3 separate regions of the Homo sapiens genome follow, and regions 1 and 2 are each linked to region 3. Evidence: promoter capture Hi-C in 16 types of primary human blood cells and fetal thymus (Javierre and others, 2016). All regions are on one chromosome and are shown on one strand. Each heading gives the region's core, a stretch centred on a gene start or on the middle of the fragment in contact. The rest is flanking DNA. Distances are from core to core; before and after follow the strand shown.

Region 1 (2,700 bases), core at 190-2,689, 310 kb before region 3:
AAAGTCCCTCCTCTATTCCTCTCCATGGACCCTGATGGTCCTCATTCATGTCAGATGCCATTACAGACAAGGACATAGTCTTCTACAAGACCCTGAAGCCCTGGCTGGGTAAGTAACTGTAGGTGGACGGGACGGGGACCAACTTTTGTGGCCAGGGGAAGATTCTGCCCTTGCCCACAGCCTTTGGCTGCCGTACTAGGGGATGGGCTCTTGTTAAGTGTTGGTGACAAGTGGAGACACCACCGTCGCTTGCTGACGCCTGCCTTCCATTTCAACATCCTGAAGCCCTATATAAAGATTTTCAGCAAGAGTGCAAACATCATGCATGTGAGTGCCTTGAACTCAGCATCCCAGCTGCAGCCTTGGGGTGGAGGGATCACATACAATTGGGTCTGGAATGTTGGCTCTCCTGGGTGGGTTTGGGGCCATTGCTCTTCCTCTCTGTGCCTTGATTTCCCCATGAGGCTAATAATCCTCACTAAAAGGTGGTAGGAGCATGTAATGGACTCATGTCTCTGACACTTAGTAGGTGGTCAGAAGGAGTCAATTTCCACATTTTTCTCACAGAAGCCCTGTAAACTCAAGAAAGGAATGATGACACGTGCATAGTAGTCATTGCTGAGTACAGATCACTTCAAAACTAATTGGTTTAGAGCAATAAGGGTTTATATTTGCTAACAAATCTGTGGGACTGTTGGCCAGCCCTTCTGCATGTGGATAGGATCCCTCATGGTATAAGAGCAGCTGTGGGTCAGGTAGGCAGCTTTGCTTGTGCCAGCTCAGTTCTCTCACATATTTGGAGCTTTGCTGGCTTCTGGCTGATTTAGGATGGCCTCAGCTGGGACACCTGGACTTTTCTCCATGTGATTCTCTGCCTCTAGATGACACCCCAGGATTGCTCACATGGCAGAGACAGGATTCCAAGGCAGTGAGAGGAGGATACAATGCTTCTCACTAGTTATTATTATTTATTTTATTTTTGAGATGAAGTCTCGCTTTGTCTCCCAGGCTGGAGTGCAGTGGTGCGATCTTGGCTCTCTGCAACCCCCGCCTCAAGCAATTCTCCTGTCTTAGCCTCGTGGGTAGATGGAATTACAGGCGCCCACCACCATGCCCAACTAATTTTTTGTATCTTCAGTAGAGACAGGGTTTCACCATGTTGGGCAGGCTGGTCTTGAACTCCTGACGTCAAGTGATCTGCCCTCCTCGGCCTCACAAAATGCTGGAATTACAGGCATGGGCTGCTGCACCCAGTCAACTTCTCACTAGTTATGGCCTTATCATTTTCACCACATTCTATTGGCCAAAAAAAGTAAAACGTCCACCATGAATCAATGTGGGGCAAAATAGGCTCCATCTCTTAATGGAAGTTGCTAAAAAATCACATTGCAAAAGATGTGGATGCAGGGAGAAGAGAAGAAATGGAGCCAAGCGTTTTGTGAAACGACTAGGATTTTTTTTTCTCCTGTGAGCTAATAAATTAGCTTGTTACTTTTGCATGGATTCTGCCAGAAGACACGAGACTTCTGGGTCAAAGACAAAAGTTTATTACTCATGTCTCAGCAAGTGGCATGTGCATCTTGTTGGTTTGGATCCTTTCTCTAAGCCACCCAAATTCCCTGGGGTGATAAGGTGGGCTTCTATAGATGCCTGCCATGTAGTATATTTGCATGATGGGGAGGAGCATTAGGCTTAGAGAATCAGCTTTTAGAGCAAGCAGAATAAGCCTAACGTGTGTCCCAGAGGAGCCATTACCTTATACCCCAAGGCTGTTCTCTGCAAACACAATGCTGAGAAATAGCCCAGATTAAGAACCTCAGGGTTGACCGGGTGTGGTGGCTCATGCTTGTAATCCCAGCACATTGGTATCACTTGAGGTCAGGAGTTCGAGACCAGCCTGGCCAACATGGCAAAACCCTGTCTCTACTAAAAATACAAAAATTAGCAGGGCGTGGTGGTGCGTGCCTGTAACCCCAGCTACTCAGGAGGCTGAGACAGGAGAATTGCTTGAACCCAGCAGGCAGAGGTTGCAGTGAGCCAAGACTGTGCCACTGCACTCCAGCCTGGGCAACAGAACGAGACTCCATCTCAAAAACTAGCAAACAAACAAAACAAACAAACAACAACAACAACAAAACTTCAGAGTTTTGCATTCTTGGCATGCTCAGAAAAAAATGTTCAGGGGGATCACAGGGACTTTTTGTAATCAATTTATAACAATGAAGATGAATCAAGATAATATTTATTGAGAACTCATCATATGACAGAAATGATGTAATATGCCTATTCCATGGTGTATGTGGTCTCATTTAATTTACACCGCCTTGTGAAGTAGAGGATATTTTCCACCCTCTCCCCCATGCCATGACAAATGGTGAAACTGAGGGCCAGAGAGGTTAGAGAGATTTCCCAAGTTCACCCAGCTTGTCAGTGAGTCTAAGAGTGGGGGAAAAGGGGTTCTAGCCTGGCTCCCTGGCATCAAAGCAGGTCATCTTGATTGCTATTGAGGATTTGACAGGTGAGACCTAGAGGAGGGCTGTGAGTTGACCAAGGGTACACACAGCTTAGGAATCACAGCTGGGGCTTGAACCCAGCCATGGGATCTTCATCTCCTAATAGTAACAGCTTCCACTCTCACCCAAGCGTAGTCCTCCCTGAGGATGGGGGTCTGGGACAGAAAACCAGGAGCATGCCTCTGGG
Region 2 (2,700 bases), core at 92-2,591, 290 kb before region 3:
CAGGCAGCACTCAATAGACCCTCTTTATGTAGATCAGGAAACACTCAGTAGGAAGTCACCATATAGAGCAGGTGGTATCAGTAGGCACTGTTTATGTAGAGCACTTGGCACTCAGTAGGCATGTGTTATGTAGACAGCAACTGGTGCTCAGTGGGCACTCTTCATATACAGGGGGTGGCACTCAATAGGCACTCACTATGTAGAGCAGGTGGCACACAGTAGGCACTCTATGAGGAATATCAGGAACTGAGTATACAGGGTTAATGTAGAGCACCTGGCACACAGTAGGCACACTTTATGGAAAGCACTTGGCACAGAGTAGACAGGATTTAGCACCTGGCACACAGTAGCTGCCCTTCATTTAGAGTATTGGCACACAGTAGAAGTACTTTCCATGCAGCCTTTGTGCAGAGTAGAGACTGGCACACAGCAGCTCAAGTGCTAGTTGCCACCCTTTCCCTTCACTCCTTTTTGGGGCTCCCTCCTCTTAGGAGCCCTCATTGTCCCCCGCTAAGGCCCTCATCGAACATCCCATTTCCCAGATGGGAAGACTGCACCCAGGAGGGGCAGTACTGACCAAAGTCAGAGCAAGGATGAGGCAGAATGAGGACTCCATTCATGGTTCCCTGGCTCTGCCCTTCCCCTGCCTGGACCCCATCCGTTCCCTCTCATCCTAACCCTCCACGTCCCCGCTCTGTCCTCCTATACTGAGTCCGGCCTCCAGATTTGCTTTTCCAGCTGAGCTCTTAATCTCCAGAATCTGACCCAGGTAATCCTCAGTGGGGCTGGATTCTTTGTTCCCGTTCCTAGCAGTCAGGTCTCCAACAGGGCCCTGGACTGCCTGGAGGCAAGACTTGAACTCCATCCAGCAGCAGGGGGATAGAGGCTTGTCTCTTCCAGGTTGCCTGATTCAGCATCCAGAAGTGGTACACGGTGTCCTACCGGCCCAGGGTTAGAGAGGAGCACAGGAGATGATCTGGAACAAGGCTTGGCCTGGCCTGGCTCGCTTGACACCTGAACTCTCAAGTTCATGCTTTTATCTGCCACACACTCAGTAGGTGCTCTTTAAGAGCAGGTGTCACACAGTGGAAACTCTATCTGACCCCTCTCGGCTTACTCTCCACCTTATGTGGGAGGTGCTGAGACCTGAGGATCCAGTGCCTGTGCTGTGTCACCCTGAGCTGGTTCCTCTGCATCCAGCTGGTCTCCCACACCCAGGTTTTGGCCAGCTGCCCAGACATGGGAGCGGCACCCAGGCTGTGGGGATTGGCTGGCCCAGCCCAGCCCAGCCTAGCCTCCCACAGCCTTCCCTACATCAGGGGCCAGGGGAAAAAACCTCCCAGAAGAAGGGGAGAGGAGGTTGTGTGGGACAAGGTGCTCCTGACAGAAGGTGCCAGGGTGGGGGTGGTGGGCCTGGGGCATCCTAGCCTGTGATGGAGATGGGCACTGGGCAAGGGATTGGGCGCACACATAGGGGAGCCCCAGCCTTCCCACATTCTCCATTGCTGCCCAAGGCCCAGGCAGCTCCTGGTTGCTGGCTTGGAGGATGAGTGGTTTTCTAACTGAAACCAAGCCCCTGGCAACGTCCTAATGATTCAGGCTGGGCCTTTCTGGACTTTAATCAGTTTCTCTGTCTTTCTCAATCTAAGTGCTTACCGGGTAACTGGAGGCCACTTGGTTGCTGGTTTTGGCTGGGCCTTTCTGGACTTTACCCCTCAGCCCCTGTTTATCCATCCCTGTTTACTCTTACTGTTCTATCTCCAGCACTGCCCGTCTCTGCCTCTCTCCACTGTCCCTGGAGCTCCCTGGGCCCTTCCCTGGGCCTCAGGACCTCACTCACCACCCCATCTGCCCTGCAGGATGCCACAGCTGAGCCTGTCCTCGCTGGGCCTTTGGCCAATGGCAGCATCCCCGTGGCTGCTCCTGCTGCTGGTTGGGGCCTCCTGGCTCCTGGCCCGCATCCTGGCCTGGACCTATACCTTCTATGACAACTGCTGCCGCCTCCGGTGTTTCCCGCAACCCCCGAAACGGAATTGGTTCTTGGGTCACCTGGGCCTGGTGAGTGTGGCAGCAGGACGGGTCTGGGGTCTCAGGGTGGATGGACTTCCTGAGGGGTAAGAATGAGGCTCAGGTGAGAGGGGGTGGGCTGGGGTCTGGGGTGGCAGAGAAGCAGGGGAGGCGTCTTACTCATTCCTCTGCTTACTCATTTCTGTGAGGTGCCAACCCAAGCCCTTCTCACCTCCCTGTTCTCCCACTCTTGGCCTGTGTTGAATCCTTTTCCTGCCTGTCTTTCCACATTAATGCACCTCTGCGGGGCTCTTGGGCAGGGGGTTGGGTGCACAGAAAGGTGAACCCCTGGCGTTCCCACATTCTCCATTGCTGGACTCGAGGCCTCCTGTACCCACTGTTCAGGGTCCTCTCCCTACCTGGCCTATTTCCTCTTATGAGGGTATAGGTGGGCCAGAGGAGAGGTGTGGGCTGTCTCTCACCTCCACCACATCCGGAGGCACCTTCCTCTTATCTTGTTCCTCCCCAGTAAGATGTCCCAATGGGGTCCTGTTGCCAAACCCACATAAAAGTTGGCCACTCACTTCCCCTTTCAGAAGCCTTCCCTGACCTTTCTCCTCCCCCAGACCTTGCCCTCTGACTTAGACCTGCTCTCCCCTTTGCGGAACGTGGTCTCAATCTGCTCATTGCAAA
Region 3 (2,700 bases), core at 7-2,506:
TGAGTGAGTGAGGAGAGGAATGAGTGAGTGAGGAGAGGAATGAGTGAGTGAGGAGAAGAATGAGTGAGTGAGGAGAAGAATGAGTGAGTGAGGAGAGGAATGAGTGAGTGAGGAGAGGAATGAGTGAGTGAGGAGAGGAATGAGTGAGTGAGGAGAAGAATGAGTGAGTGAGGAGAGGAATGAGTGAGTGAGGAGAAGAATGAGTGAGTGAGGAGAGGAATGAGTGAGTGAGGAGAAGAATGAGTGAGTGAGGAGAGGAATGAGTGAGTGAGGAGAAGAATGAGTGAGTGAGGAGAGGAATGAGTGAGTGAGGAGAAGAATGAGTGAGTGAGGAGAAGAATGAGTGAGTGAGGAGAGGAATGAGTGAGTGAGGAGAAGAATGAGTGAGTGAGGAGAGGAATGAGTGAGTGAGGAGAAGAATGAGTGAGTGAGGAGAAGAATGAGTGAGTGAGGAGAGGAATGAGTGAGTGAGGAGAAGAATGAGTGAGTGAGGAGAGGAATGAGTGAGTGAGCAGAGGAATGAGTGAGTGAGGAGAAGAATGAGTGAGTGAGGAGAAGAATGAGTGAGTGAGGAGAGGAATGAGTGAGTGAGCAGAGGAATGAGTGAGCGAGAAGAGGAATGAGTGAGTGGGCAGAGGAATGAGTGAGCGGGGAGAGGAATGAGTGAGCGGGGAGAGGAATGAGTGAGCGGGGAGAGGAATGAGTGAGCGGGGAGAGGAATGAGTGAGTGGGCAGAGGAATGAGTGAGTGGGCAGAGGAATGAGTGAGCGGGGAGAGGAATGAGTGAGTGGGCAGAGGAATGAGTGAGCTGCCTCCCTCTCTTCTCTGTGTTCCCACACCCCAGCCACCCTCAAAACCCAGCTCCCTGAGCCCCATTCCTGCCCCTCAGGAACTCCATGCATCCTGAGACCCCAGACCCGTCCTGCTGACAAACTCACCAGGCCCTGGTGTCCCCAAAACCAGTTCTGTTTCGGGGGTTGAGGAAAACACTGGAGGCGGCGGCAGTTGTCATAGAAGGTGTAGGTCCAGGCCAGGACGCGGGCCAGGAGCCAGGAGCCTCCAACCAGCAGCAGAAGCAGCCACGGGGATGCTGCCACGGGCCCGAGGCCCAGCCAGGACAGGCTCAGCTGCGGCATCCTGCAGGGCAGACGGGATGGAGGGTGGGATCCTGAGGCCCAGGGAAGGGCCCAGGAAGCTCCAAGGACAGTGGAAAGGGGCAAGGATGGGCAGTGCTGGAGGCAGATCAGGGAAGGCTCTGAGATGGGTAAACAAGAGCTGAGATCTAAAGTCCAGAAATGCCCAATGAAAACCAGCAGCCAAGTGGCCTCCAGTTACACAGAAAGGGAAAGAGAGAGAGAGGCTGATTAGAATCCAAAAAGGCCCAGCCTGAATCACTGGGAGGTTGCCAGGGGTCCAGTTACCAGGAAATCACCAGTCTCCCAGGCCAGCAGCCTTGACCCACCCCAACCTTGGGCAGTCCCCTCCCCATCCCAGGCCAGGACCCTCCAGCCCTGCCACTGCCAGCCTGGCTCCTATCAGAAGCAGCTTGTCCCACATACCCTCCTCTCCCCCTCTGCTAGGAGGTCTTTGCCTCTGGCCCCTGATTTCCGGAAGGCTGTGGGAGGCGAGGCTGGGCTGGGCTGGTCGAGCCAATCCCCATGGACTGGGTGTGTCTTCCAAGCCTGGGCAACCAACCAAAACCTGGCGTAGGGCCAGCTGGGTGCAGAGGAGCCAGCTCAGGGTGACACAGCATGGGCACAGGATCCGCAGGTCTCAACATCTCACACCTGAGTGGGAGGGGATCTTGAGGAAGAGTCAAAGGTGACTCTGAGCCCCAAAGTTTACAGCCACCTTGCCCTTCCAAGGCAAGAGTGTGGCAGATAAAGTCATGAACTTGAGAGTTCAGGTGGCAAGAGAGTGGGGCCAGGCCAACCATTGTGCCAGATCATGTTCTGAGCTCCTCTCCACATGTGGTCCAGGAGTTCATCATGCACCATTTCTCAGTGCAGACTTAGGAGATTCAGAGACAGAAGCTCCTGGCCTCTGGCTTCACAGTCTGGCAGGAGTTCAAGTCCTGCCTCCAGGCAACCCAGGGCCTGGGTCGAGACATGACTGACAGGAGTAGGAACAAACTATCTAACTGTGCTGGGGATTACCCGGTCAGATTTTAGAGATAAAGAGCCCCGCTGGAGGAGAATACCTGGAGGCTAGGTTCAGCATAGGAGGACAGAGAGGGGAGATGGGAGGTAAGGCTGAGAGGGGCCATGAGTGGATGGGGCCAGGGACAGGAGGGCAGAGATGGGGGACCCTGAGTGGAGTCCTTATTCTGCCCTCCCCTTGCCCTAACTGTGGGTAGTGAGCCCCTCCTGGACTCAGGCTTCCCATCTGGGAAATGGGATGTCAGATAAGGCCTTAGAGGGGGACAGAGGAGGGATCACAGGAAAATGGGCCTTAGATGGGGACAGATGAAAGATTCTGAGGAGGGAGTGAAGGGAAGGGGCTGGCAGCTAGCACTTTAGCTGCTGTGTGTCAGTCTCTGCTCTTTGCAAAAGACAATATGCAAAGTTCTTTTACTGTGTACTGGACTCTAAATAAAGCACACCTACCATGTGCCAGGTACTCTGTATACATGTTGTGTACTGTGTGCCAAGTGCTCTATGAAAAGTGTGTCCACTGTGTGCTGGGCGCTCTACAGAAAAT

The links. Contacts are between HindIII fragments. The CHiCAGO score rates a contact against its expected background, and 5 or more counts as called.
Region 1: a contact is called between a fragment that was not itself captured here and the fragment with the promoter of CYP4F11 in region 3, in 1 of 17 cell types (M0 macrophages). The highest score is 5.2, in M0 macrophages.
Region 2: the fragment with the promoter of CYP4F3 here is called in contact with the fragment with the promoter of CYP4F11 in region 3 in 12 of 17 cell types (naive CD8 T cells, total CD4 T cells, total CD8 T cells and 9 more); the score reaches 10.5 in naive CD8 T cells.

What each region holds. Positions count from the first base shown.
Region 1 is chr19:15,619,436-15,622,135 of GRCh38, forward strand. CYP4F8 (cytochrome P450 family 4 subfamily F member 8) reads left to right here. Exons shown (of 13, transcript NM_007253.4): 4 at 55-108; 5 at 200-327. Among named protein-coding and RNA genes, the nearest start is that of CYP4F8, 5.6 kb to the left of the region's middle. The HindIII fragment of the contact is 5,324 bases long and covers 1-2,700 here.
Region 2 is chr19:15,639,556-15,642,255 of GRCh38, forward strand. It overlaps CYP4F3 (cytochrome P450 family 4 subfamily F member 3), which reads left to right and starts at 1,342. Exons shown (of 13, transcript NM_000896.3): 1 at 1,342-1,390; 2 at 1,860-2,058. The coding sequence starts at 1,861. The HindIII fragment of the contact is 7,096 bases long and covers 1-2,700 here.
Region 3 is chr19:15,933,273-15,935,972 of GRCh38, forward strand. It overlaps CYP4F11 (cytochrome P450 family 4 subfamily F member 11), which reads right to left and starts at 1,257. Exons shown (of 12, transcript NM_021187.4): 1 at 939-1,257. The coding sequence starts at 1,136. The HindIII fragment of the contact is 9,699 bases long and covers 1-2,700 here.